Regions from separate parts of the Homo sapiens genome. Here regions 1 and 3 are each linked to region 2. Evidence: promoter capture Hi-C in 16 types of primary human blood cells and fetal thymus (Javierre and others, 2016). All regions are on one chromosome and are shown on one strand. The core of a region is centred on a gene start or on the middle of the fragment in contact, and the rest is flanking DNA. Distances in the headings are between cores, read along the strand shown. Region 1 overlaps ZNF564 (zinc finger protein 564). Region 2 holds the start of ZNF44 (zinc finger protein 44). Region 3 overlaps ZNF709 (zinc finger protein 709).

Region 1 (4,084 bases), core at 1,230-3,729, 230 kb after region 2:
TGGTCTCGAACTCCTGGCCTTAAGTGATCTGCCTGCCTCGGACTCCCAAAGTGCTGGGATTACAGACATAAGCCACCACACCAGGCCTGGCTCTCCATTTCTTGAACACCACCTTTACCCCAGGTACAGAATTAGTGGTAAATAGTTACACATTACCTATTACATAAACTTTCCATACCTAAGAAGTTCTCTCCCACCTTTTCTGGACACTATATGCTGCTATTTCTTCTCATATTCTTAAAGATTTCCGAGCAAAGAATTTCTATTTGCTTAAATTATCAGATATATATTTGATATACATGTCTGTGAATAGTGTGCAGAGGAAATTAAAAGTATCCCTCTTCAATAAAGGGAAGTGGTTATCATAGGCCCTGGGTCTGGGAGTGAGGTCCAGGTCTACAGTGAAGGGGGGAGGAGACAGGGAAGTCAATCCTGGGGATCAAATCTAAATGCCTACTAAAATCCAAATGGACTGTGTAGGAACAGGTCCCTCATGGATAGAAAAACGAAAAAAACAGTGCTGAGAACAAGTAGGAAAGAGACCTAGAGACTAGGCGCAGTGGCTCACGCCTGTAACCCCAGCACTATCGGAGGCCGAGGCGGACAGATCACTTGAGATCAGGAGTTCAAGACCAGCCTGGCCAACATGGCGAAATCCCGTTTCTACTAAAAATACAAAAATTAGCTGGGTGTGGTGGTGCGCACCTGTAATCCCAGCTACTCAAGAGGCTGAAGCATGAGAAGCCTTTGAATCTGGGAGGCAGAGGGTGCAGTGAGCCAAGATCTCACCACTGCACTCCAGCTTGGGCGACAGAGCAAGACCCTATCTCAAAAAAAAAAAAGAGAGACCTAGAGTGTCTTGGTATGCTGAAGGTCCCACAAGGTCTATGCAGTACTGTGGTCTTTTCTCCCTTTTTTGTGTGTAAAACATACATAAAATTCACCATCATAATCAATTTTAAGTGTACAGTTCAGTGCCATTAAGAACATTCATACTAGTGTGCAACCATCACCACCATCCACCTCTGGAACCCTTTTTATCTTGCAAAATTGAAACTCTATGCCCATGAAATAACTATCCATTACCCAATTTCCCTAACCTTTGGCAAATGGTATTGTACTTTTTCTATCAATATGACTACTCTAGATACCTGATATAAGTAGAATCATACCGTATTGTCTTTACATGAATGGCCCATTTCACTTAGCACGTCAAGGTTCATCTTGCAGCATATTTGTAAATTTCCTTACTTTGTAAGACTCAGTAATATTCTCTTGTATGTATAAACTTCCTTTTGTTTATTCATCTGTTGATGAAAACCTGAGTAGTTTCCAGAGTTTACCTATTGTGAATGATGCTATGTACACAGGTGTACAAAACCTATTTGAGACTTTGCTTTCAATCTTTTTTGTTTTGTTTTGTTTTTTGAGACGGAGTCTTGCTCTCTCACCCAGGCTGGAGTGCAGTGGCGCGACCTCAGCTCACTGCAAGCTCTGCCTCCCGGGTTCATGCCATTCTCCTGCCTCAGCCTCCCGAGCAGTTGGGACTACAGGCGCCTGCCACCACGCCCGGCTAATTTTTTTTTAGTAGAGACGGGGTTTCATCATGTTAGCCAGGATGGTCTCAATCTCCTGACCTTGTGATCCGCCTGCTTCGGCCTCCCAAAGTGCTGGGATTACAAGCGTGATCCACCACGCCCGGCCCTGCTTTCAATCTTTTTATTTTCCCAGAAATGGAAATGCTGATCATATGTTATTTCTATATTTTAATCTGGGGATCTGCCATACTGTTTTCAGCAGGCTTATACCACTGTACATTCCCAGTGATAGTGCACAATGTTCTCCAACATTCCACATCCTTGACAGTATTTCTTGTTTTCCATCTTTGATACTACTAATCCTAATGAGATGCTATGTATGTCTTGAGTTTGATTTGTATTTCCCTAATGACTAAAGATGTCGAGCATTGTTACGTGCTTATTGGCCATCTGGGTATCTTCTTTGGAGAAATGTCTATTCAAGTCCTTTCCTCCATTTTAAAATTGGATTGTGTCTTAGCTTGGGTTGCTAAAACAAAATACCATAAATTGGAAAGCTTAATTAATCAACAAACATTTATTTCTCATGGTTTGGGAGGCTGGGAAGTCCAATATCAAGGCACTGGCATAGTCCATGTCTGGTAAGGGCCTGCTTCCCGGTTCAAAGATAGCTATCTTCTCACTGCACCCTCTCATGGTGAAGGGCAAAGCTAGCTCTCTAGGGATTCCTATCAGGAAACTAATCCCAATTACAAGGCCTCCATCTTCATGATGTCCTCCAATCCTAAAAACCACCAGAGACAGGGCCTCCAAATACCATCACATTGTGGGGGAGAGGGGGGGCACGGGGGTAAGGTTTCAACATATGAATCTGAGGTGGCATACACTCAGCCAAAACATTACACCTCTGGCCCCCAAAATCCATGTCATCACATGTAAAATATATTCATCTCATCCCAAAGGCCTCAAAAGTCTCAGTTAATTCCAGCATGAAGCCTAATGTTTAAACTCAAACTCCAAAGTGTCATCTCAATATCACATCACTCAGATATGGATGAGACTCAATTCATGCTGAGGCAAAATTCTTCTTCAGCTCCGAACCGGTGAAAACCAAACTAGTCATGTATTTCCAAAATATGAGACAGGCACAGGATAGAGATTCCTATTCCAAAAGTGAGAAACAGGAGAAAGGGGTGAGCTCCCAAACAAGTCTGAAACCCAGAAAGCAAACTGAAGACTTTCCATATTCTTTAGATATGTAGATACTTGTAGACCTGTCCTCCACTATTCATTTTCACAGGTATTCGAAGGTTGTGTGATAAATGAAAGCTTTCCCACATTCTTTACGTAAGGTTTATCTCCATTATGAGCTCTTTCATGTCTTTGAAAGGAACTGGAATAACTGAACGTTTTTCCACATTGCTTACATTCATAGGGTTTTTCTCCGGTATGAGTTCTTTCATGTATTCTAATGGAACTGGCATAATTGAATGCTTTCCCACATTCTTTACATTCATAGGGTTTTTCTCCAGTATGAGTTCTTTCATGTGTTCGGACAGAACTAGGACAGTCAAAGGCTTTACCACATACCTGACATTTATAAGGTCCATCTCCAGTGTGCAGTATCATATGTTTTCTAATCCTTTTAAGAGAAATGAAGGCTTTCCCACATACCTGACATTCATAGGGTTTCTCTCCAGTGTGAGTTCTTTCGTGTATTTGAAATGAACTGGGACAGTCAAAGGCTCTACCACATACCTGACATTTATAAGGTCCATCTCCAGTGTGCTTTATCATGTGTCTTCGGACACTTGGGAGAGAAATGAAGGCTTTCCCGCATTCCTTACATTCATAGGGCTTCTCTCCAGTGTGAGTCCTTTCATGTGTTCGAACATTACTGGAAGAACTGAAGGTTTTACCACATTTATTACATTCATAGGGTTTCTCCCCAGTATGAGTTCTTTCATGCTTTCGAACATAACTGGGAAAAATAAAGGCTCTCCCACATACTTTACATTTATAAGGTCCATCCCCAGTGTGCCTAATCATATGACTTTGAAAATTTGTGAAAGAAATGAAGGCCTTCCCACACTGTTTACATTCATGGGGTTTCTCTCCAGTATGAGTTCTTTCATGTATTCGAAATAAACTGGGGCGGTCAAAGGCTTTTCCACATTCCTGACATTTATAAGGTCCATCTCCAGTGTGCCTAATCATGTGTCTTTGAAAACTTGGAAGAGAAATGAAAGCTTTTGCACATTCCTGACATTCATAGGGTTTCTCTCCAGTGTGAGTTCTTTCATGTATCTGAAATAAACTTGGGCGATCAAAGGCTTTCCCACATTCCTGACATTTATATGGTCCATCTCCAGTGTGCTTAATCATGTGTCTTCGAACACTTGGGAGAGAAATGAAGGCTTTCCCACATTCCGGACATGCATAGGGTTTCTCACCAGTGTGAGTTCTTTCATGTCTTCGAAAGGATTGACAAGAACTGAAGGCTTTCCCACACTGCTTACATTTATATGGTTTCTCTCCATATTCCT
Region 2 (4,283 bases), core at 419-2,918:
CACCCCAGTGCATCCACCTGATCCTTTGGGAGGCCCCACTCCAACACCTCAGGCTGTCCTCTGGGAAGAGTGACCCAAGGGCCGATATCCACTAGGCCCTCCATGAGATTGGCAGCTTCCAGCATCTTAGGGTAGCCCCAGAAAGTTCCATAACACAGGGCCTGGAAAAGATACAGGGTGGGCTGAGGTCACATCACCCTGTAAAGGACATACTGAGAAGGCATCTGTGCCTAGGGGAGATAAAAGAGGCACAAAGGTTTGGTTTTTTTTACAGCAGTGTCAGGTGGTTATTCTCTTCTTCCTCACATGTGAAATGTTAAGGAAAACAAAATAAATCTGTTTAAAAAGAGCCATACATTGCTATCTGAAAACAAACGACAAAATTCTGTGTCTATTTGAAATATCGTCTTGCTGACAAAGGGTTCATAACGTTACTGGGAATTGAGGAGTGAAGTTAGCATATGGAAGGCTCTGGAAACCAAAAGATTTACTGTTAGCCCCAAGAGGAGTTAGGATGAAGGGACAGGTCTCAAAGACCCTGATGCCAATATCTTTGAAAGCCTCGGAGGAGAAATGGTCGCCCTTGGAAAGAAAGGACTGAAGAGCACAGAGACCACAGCTCCTCCCACACACAAACCCCACACACGAGTCTGGTTTGTGCCTAGTGACCCTCCCACCGTCACCGTGCAGCCTCCTCACCGGGCTCACAGGAACTGCGAGCCAGGCTGGAGGCGAGATTGCAGTTAGATATTAACCAGGTGCCCTCAGCCCCGCTGCTTCACAGGAAGCCGCCTCCCTGAGAGTCAGGTCACAGCAGACGCTGACCGCCGGCTTCCCCATTGGCCTGGGGATAAGATCTCTGAGAGTTGCTCAAGAGTCGTCTAAGTTCTTTCTCAGATCTTGAATTCCAGCGGAAAGGCTGGCGCCAAGCAGGCTGAAGACCCCACAAGGAAGCCCACTCAGCAGCAGAATGCGGTTTCTTCACCTCCAGTCCCAAGATTCACCCCTCACTTCTCCACCAACCAGCGACCCCACATCCCAACCACCCCCGTCCAGACCCCTAAACACCCCATCCTCAAACCTCTCACGGAGGCGGATCTAGGGTGTCCTCTCCTATTAAACCGTTTCTGCTGCAGCCCTCGGCGTCCGGGTGCAGTGACTTGGGCTGCGAACCTGTACTGGTTCCGCCGCACAATCTGGGGAGAAGCGGGGCTGAGGGCGCGGAGCTGCCCAGAGAGGGGCGCCGGGGCCGGGGCCGCAGTCGCAGCTCAGGGACGGGACAGGACGCCCGGGGTCCCGGCTGCCGGCCCAGCCCCACCCTGCGGCCAAACGGACCGAGGACCGAGGTGCGCAGGGGGCGCTCAGGTCCCAGACCCCAAAGACGCTGCGGCGAGGCCCGGGTCCCGCCACAGCCGGTTCCGACTGGTTCCGACCAGCCCTTCGCCCTGCCTCAGGACGCCGGGCCCCGCACACTCACCATTTCCCGGCTGTGCGGTGTCCCGGGTCCTCCCAACTCCCGTAGTCAGGGTAGGTCCCAGCGCGACAAAAGCCACCACAGATGTCCCAGGGCGTCTCTCAGTGACAGAATACGGAACAGAGGTCACCAGGGTGAAGAGGCCACTAGCTCCTGGAACGTCACACCCTCCTCTCTGCCTCGCGCCTGATTGACAATTCTCAGGAACCCGCCCACGACTTTGATTGGGTAGCCCTCCAGGTCCCGCCTCCTGGGCACTGAGTGACAGAAGAAGCGATCTCACAGTGCTGAGTGCAGCCGGATGAACAGGTTCCAGACCCGGCCCCTGGCAGGGCGGGCTTCCTCCCTGCGTTGTGACCCGACCCGTCCCGGGAAACGTTTGCCTTAAAGCGGAATTTCCTACCTGTACGCAGTGGGCCCTTTTTGCTTCTTCCTCCTGAACAATTGTGTGCAAGGAATCCCAGACTCACTGTCCAGTGGAGCCATCCCTTGGCCTCAGAGCAGGAGGGCAGCCGAGGCCACACAGGCCACACTGTAGCAGCGGGGGACAGGGGGTGGGTGGGTGGGGGGGTGGTGCTGATGTCCTCCAGGGACCAGGAATTTGGGATGAGGCTGTCGCCTGCAAGGTCAAGCCTTTCTTCCACTATAAGCGCTGGATGGGTTCTTTCTGCGCGCTACGCAAATAAAGACCACGGTATTGCAGTTAAAAAAAAAGTTTAATAAACACTAGGCCAGCTACGATACGTGAGAGACGGAGTTACTACTCAAATTATTCTCATCCAAGGTCCTCTGGTAGGGGTTTTTCAAGGGCAGTTTGGGAGAAAGGGTGGAGGTAGCTAGGCTTGCTACTGACTGGTTGGGGTGGGGATGAAATCACTGGGGATGGAATCTGTCCTCTTGGCAGTGCGTGGTGGCTCACCGCTGTAATCCCAATACTTTGGGAGGCCTAGGTGGGAGGATCGCTTGAGGCCAGTAGTTCAAGACCAGCCTGGACATAGAGTGAAACTCCGTCTCTATACTATAAGGGAGGAGACCACCCCTCATATTGTCTTATGCCCAATTTCTGCCTCCAAAGAAGAAGTAAAAACTAAAAGGCAGAAATGAAATCCACAGGCAGATAACCCGGCTTGTGCCCTGGGCTGGGTAGTTAAAAATCAACCTCTGACCTAACTGTGTTATCTATGATTCCAGACATTGTATGGAAAAGCACTGTGAAAATCCCTGTCCTGTTCTGTTCAGTTCTGGTTACCGGTGCATGCAGCCCCCAGTCACGTACCCACTGTTTGCTCCATCAATCACGACCCTCTCACGCGGACTCCTAGTTGTAAGCCCTTAAAAGGGACAAGAATTGCTCACTCGGGGAGCTCGGTTTTTGGAGACGTGAGTCCGCCGATGCTCCCAGCCCAGCTGAATAAAGCCCTTTCCTTCCACAACTCGGTGTCTGAGGGGTTCTTGTCTGCGGCTTGTACTGCTACATATTTAAAAAAGAAAAAAAGAGGCCGGGCCCGGTGGCTCACACCTGTAATCCCAGAACTTTGGGAGGCCCAGGCGGGCGGATCACCTGAGGTCGGGAGTTTGAGACCAGCCTGACCAACATGGAGAAAGCTCGTCTCTACTAAAAATACAAAATTAGCTGGGCGTGGTGGCACATGTCTGTAATCCCAGCTACCTGGGAGGCTAAGGCGGGAGAATCACTTGAACCCGGGAGGTGGAGGTTGCGGTGAGCTGAGATCGCGCCAAGCCGAGATCGTGCCTTTGCACTCCAGCCTGGGCAACAAGAGCGAAACTCCGTCTCAAAAAAAAACAAAAAAAAGACAAAAAAAAAAAAAACCTATCCTGTTATGCTGAATCACTTCTGGTTGGGGCCACAGGAGCAGAGTTGGCAGGTGCAGGTGGTGTCAGACATGCAAAAAAAAAACAAACAAACAAACAAAAACTGAAAATACGTCTACAAATGCTAATCTACAATAGTGGTGTTATCTGCAGAAATAGCTGGCAATCTATGTCTACACTTTAGCAGCATTCCGATTCCTTTCATCCCTCAGCCTGATGGCCATTCATTCGTTTTACAAAGGCAGTTGAGTTTTGGGGAAGGCTTATTATCATTTAAGCTATCTTCCAAAGTTAGCTGTGCCTAAGAGCCCAGGATTAAGGGAAAGAGAAGACAGAGGGTTGGCAGGGGCGGGGGGCGGGGCGGGGCAGAACGGGTGTTGGCTCAGATCTCTTCCACTGCCATAATTTTCTCACTGATATAATTTTTTTGCGATCTATTCATTTTCATCCCAGAAAATAAAAACACATCAACAATGAAATGAAATTGTTAAATGTGTGAAAAAACTGGAATTATAGGGCAGCATGGTTGTTTTTTTTTTGTTTTATTTTGTTGTTTTTGTTTTTGTTGTTGTTGTTTTTGAGATAGAGTCTCACTCTGTTGCCCAGGCTTGAGTGTAGTGGCGCGATCTCGGCCCACTGCAACCTCCGACTCCCAGGTTCAAGCGATTCTCCTGCCTCAGCCTCCCGAGTAGCTGAGACTACAGGTGCACACCACCATGCCCAGCTAATTTTTGTTTTTTTAGTAGAGATAGTGTTTCACCATGTTGGCCTGGCTGGTGTTGAACTCCTTACCTCAGGTTTATTTGCTTGCCTCTGCCTTCCAAAGTGCTGGGATTCCAGGCATGAGCCACCACACCTGGCCTGACAGCATGTATTCTATTAAAGGAATCAGAAGAGAAGAAAAGAAAAAATATCTCGTTCAGGGAAGTAAGCAGGAAACCCCCTTTCAGGAAGTTAAACAGATTCCCGAGCTTGA
Region 3 (4,232 bases), core at 827-3,326, 180 kb after region 2:
GAGGTTGCAGTGAGCCAAGATCGCACCACTGTACTCCAGCCTGGGCAACAGAGTGAGATTCCGTCTTAAAAAAAAAAAAAAAAAAAAAAAAATCTAAGCATCTACATGAGGAAAGCAAGAAAATATGAGCAAATTAAACCCAAAGTAAGCACACAACAGAAGAAATAGTAAAAAGAGAAATTAAACAAAACCAAAGGTGTTTCTTTGAAAAGATCAATATATTTGATAAATGTATGGTTAAGCTAACTGAAAAACAGAGAACAGAAATTACTAATATCACAAATGTAAGTGGGAAAAATAAAAATGAAAAAGCTATGGGCAAAATCCAACATGCATTTATGATAAGAAACTGGAGATAGACTTTCCTCTTTTTGAGAAGCAGTATTTATAGGAAACCTGCAGCTAATATCATATTTAATAGTGAGAAAATAGATGCTTTCCTGGTAAGATGAGGAAATGGGCAAAGATGTCCCCTCTTACCACTCCTACTCAACAGATTGTACTCAAAGTGTAACTAATGAGAGGAGAGGGGAGGAGAGGAGAGAAGAGATATAGATTGGGAACAAAGAAATATCACTGTCTTTGTCGCATGTGACATGATTGTCTAAGTAGAAAATCTCAAAGAATCCACAACAAACTCCTCAAACTAGAGGTTGAGGATATAATCTTAATATACAAAAGTCAATTGCCTTCTTACAGACTCACATTAGTATAGTATAGACTCACTGAGTCATCTGATTTTCAACAAATGACCAACAGCAATTCAATGAAAAAAGATAGCCTTTTTCAACAAACAGTGTTGGAAAAACTGAACATCCACATGCAAAACACAATGAAAAAAACACAAATCTAGAAACAGACGTTACACCTTAAACAAAAACTGGCTCAAAATGGATCACAGAACTAAATGTAAAATCTAGGCCAGGAGCAGTGGCTCATGCCTGTAATCCCAGCACTCTGGGAGGCCATGGCAGGAGGATAGCTTGAAGTCAGGAGTTTGAGACCAGCCTGGGCAACTAAGTAGGACCCCATCTCTACAAAAAATACAAAAATTAGCCAGGTGTGGTGGTGCACGCTTGTAGTCCCACCTACTCAGGAGGCTGAAGTGGGAGGAGTGCTTGAGCCCAGGAGGTTGAGGCTGCAGTGAGCCAAGATTGCACTACTGCACTCTGGCCTGGGCAAGAGGGAGAACTTGCCTCAAAAAAAAAAAAAAAAGTAAAGTTATAGGATACTAAAAGTTAATGAAGAAAATCTAGGTGACCCTGGGTTTGGTGACAAATGTTTAGATATAAGCAAAATCCATACAAAATAAATCAGTAAGTTTGACTTCATTAAAATGCAAAAGCTCCTTCTCTATGAAAGCTCTGTGTTAAGAGAATGAAAAAGACTCTAGAGCCTTTTGCGGTAGGGGGACCCACTTAAGGTGGGCCAATTTGCAATTAACAGCATAAAGTGGTTAAGTAAAATTTATAAACAAGGAATATGTTGCCTCCAGAACATCAAAAGAACCTAGAAGATGCTGTGGGTAGTCAGAGGGACAATAGCTATTTCATAGTAGTGTCAGGGATGGAGCGGCCCTCCTTTTACCAAATGGTTTTTAGGAACTTAACCAAAACATAAAGGTCTCTTATTTTATATATGGGGCAATGGACTTTTTGTAAGCTCTATTTTTTTTTTCAGTATTTATGTGTCCTGAATGAATGCCAAAACAATGTCCTCAGACAAGGCTGTCATTAATGTAATATCATACCTGTGTTCTAGAGAAAGGTGGATGCAGTTCAGATTTTGCCTGCAAAGACTGTGCAACAGCAAGGCTGTTGAGGTTCCCTTGGGAAACTAGGTAAAGTTATATAATTAGCCTGTGAGATGGTGAAATCTGTGAGATCAGCTGGATGGTGTCAGTAATTTCCATGTTGGATATTGGTATAGGGGCTTAATGGGTGGGACCACAGCATTAAGGTTATGGTAATCCATTGTGGGTTGCCATTCATTCTCTCCAAGTTTAAGAAAGGCCAAACTGTACTTTTAAAACGAGAAGCACGGGGAATAATCACTTCCTCACTAAACAAGTTTTACATAATACTTTTCAACCCTTCAAGGCCCTGTTCAATTTATATTGAGCCATCATAACTAATTTAACTGGGGAGTAAGTTCCACAGGGTCTCATTCTGTCAAGCCAGTTTGTAAGTGCCAAAGATTTAATTTAAATTTCACTTATGACTCACTGGTTTAGAGTTTACCTGTTCATTCTGGCGTATTTTAGGACACTGGGTGCCATGAACATGGGGAATTTAGGCACAGTTATGATGGCTAAGATGAGACATACTTATTTGTCTTCTATTTTATATTCAGTAACTCCCTTAAGATTATCAGGGGATACCTTGCTTAAATTTTAGTGGGTCTCCCAGGTATAACCATAATTTGAGCCCTTGTATTGGCTAATCCTATAGTGTGTTAATTAATACATTACATAAGATGTTAAAATTAATACAGAACCTATGATATAGAGGCTCTTTTATCTTTTTTGCCGTCTAAATTCCTTTAGTCTATTTGGAATTTCCAATTGGGTCAAATTGTGGACCTCTTTTTCAGCATTTTTTTCTTTTGTTCCTTTCCTTCCTAACATGTTTGTTTTGTTTTTGTTTTTGTCCCTGGATATATTTTGACAGCAAAATCCTCTCTACAGGGGAGGGGTGTTCTTTTCCCTCCAGAGAGCCACAAATCACTATTATCAGGCTTAGGGGCCTGTCCCTCATGGTTGCTTTATAAAGTTTAAGCACCTGGGCCTTAAGCTGGCTTTGAATGAACCCTTTGCAATGCTGCAGAGGAAACATGAGTGTGCCCTATAATCCTGAGGGTCAGCATCCTTGCTGCAATAGAGCAACAGCAGCAACACTTAAGGGTCCTTGGGAGCCCTGTGCTATTAGGAGTGTGGACTCGGCCCACCATCTAACAGCTGCCTTTCCCCCTCTCTTTTGTCTCTTTTTCAAAAATGACTGCTCTGGCAGGTAGTCTTTCCCATGAGCACCTTGTATGCCAGGTCAGCAGCAGTCACAGCTTCACTCTAAAACACACAGATAAGTCCAGGCCAAGAAACACTACCCAGGACCACTTTAAGGAGTATCAAATCTCATATTCCTCTTCAAAAAAGCCAAGGAATTATCAAAACGGCCAACTCCAGTTGGCTAAACATAGAACCCAGACTTGGCAGGGCTCAACATGCAGCACAGAGTAGCACAACTCAAAGTAGTAGCTTCCCAGAAAGCAGCAGCTGAAAGTGCATGCTGGCCATCAGGCAACAGAGCAGGTAGCAATTCAGTGCAAGAGAAGACAGACCCATGGGGTGACAGTCAATGTCTGAACACCATGCTCATGGTAACAATTCCTGTGTCGTTCCAATGTTGACACTAATAACAGCGTGGAGAACAGACACCAAAGGGTATGAAAAGACTCACTACTGTGATCATTGAGGTCTTGGGGAAAGCAGGGCAGGCTGCCCAAGCAGGTGTGACATAGCTTCAGAGAGCAAAGAAAGCCTCCTGGCCTGGGTTTTTATTGTAGTTTGGGGGTGGGGCTACAAGAGAGTACCTGCTCAAGGGCAGGAGCTTCTGTGGTTTGAATTTCCTGCTCCCAGACTTTTTCAGCTTGCCCAGGTGTGCAGCACGAGGAGAAGAGAGAAGGGTGACGCTTATGATGTGCACAGCCAAAATCAAAACATGCAGAGTCCAACTACTCATTACAGAACCAACATGAGTATGAAAAACATGCATTTGCAATTGCTTATTTTTATAAAAAGAAACACTGACAGTATGCTTAAGAAATTATTAAAAGGCCAGGCACAGTGGTTTATACCTATAACACCAGTGCTTTGACAGGCTGAGGCAGGAGGATTGCCTGAGCCCAGGAGTTCAAGACTAGCCTGAGCAACATAGTAAGACTCCATCACTACAAAAAATTTAAAAATTAGCTGGGAGTGGCAGCACACACCTGTAGTCCCAGCTACTGAAGAGGCTGAGGTGGGAAGATCACTTGAGCCCAGGAGGTTGAGGCTGCAATGAGCTATCATCATGTCATTGTACTCCAGCCTGGGCAACAGAACAAGACCCCATCTCAAAAAAAATAAAAAATTATCAAAAGTGAGTATTTGGGGGGTGGCTAGAGCAAGTGCCCTGGCTGGACTGGACCAGAATATGCTGGCAGTGAGTCTTTTCAAGTTAGACTCAACTATTGTG

What was found. Contacts are between HindIII fragments. The CHiCAGO score rates a contact against its expected background, and 5 or more counts as called.
Region 1: a fragment that was not itself captured here is called in contact with the fragment with the promoter of ZNF44 in region 2 in 2 of 17 cell types (erythroblasts and naive CD4 T cells); the score reaches 6.3 in erythroblasts.
Region 3: a fragment that was not itself captured here is called in contact with the fragment with the promoter of ZNF44 in region 2 in 2 of 17 cell types (erythroblasts and M2 macrophages); the score reaches 6.6 in erythroblasts.

Annotation. Positions count from the first base shown.
Region 1 is chr19:12,523,624-12,527,707 of GRCh38, forward strand. ZNF564 (zinc finger protein 564) reads right to left here. Exons shown (of 4, transcript NM_144976.4): 4 at 1,750-4,084. The coding sequence ends at 2,823. Among named protein-coding and RNA genes, the nearest start is that of ZNF564, 26 kb to the right of the region's middle. The HindIII fragment of the contact is 772 bases long and covers 2,094-2,865 here.
Region 2 is chr19:12,293,215-12,297,497 of GRCh38, forward strand. It overlaps ZNF44 (zinc finger protein 44), which reads right to left and starts at 1,669. Exons shown (of 4, transcript NM_016264.4): 1 at 1,478-1,669. The coding sequence starts at 1,480. RefSeq lists a silencer at 1,224-1,453 and an enhancer at 2,004-2,053. The HindIII fragment of the contact is 16,141 bases long and covers 1-4,283 here.
Region 3 is chr19:12,475,191-12,479,422 of GRCh38, forward strand. The region is part of intron 1 of ZNF709 (zinc finger protein 709); the gene reads right to left. Among named protein-coding and RNA genes, the nearest start is that of ZNF709, 7.5 kb to the right of the region's middle. The HindIII fragment of the contact is 6,195 bases long and covers 1-4,232 here.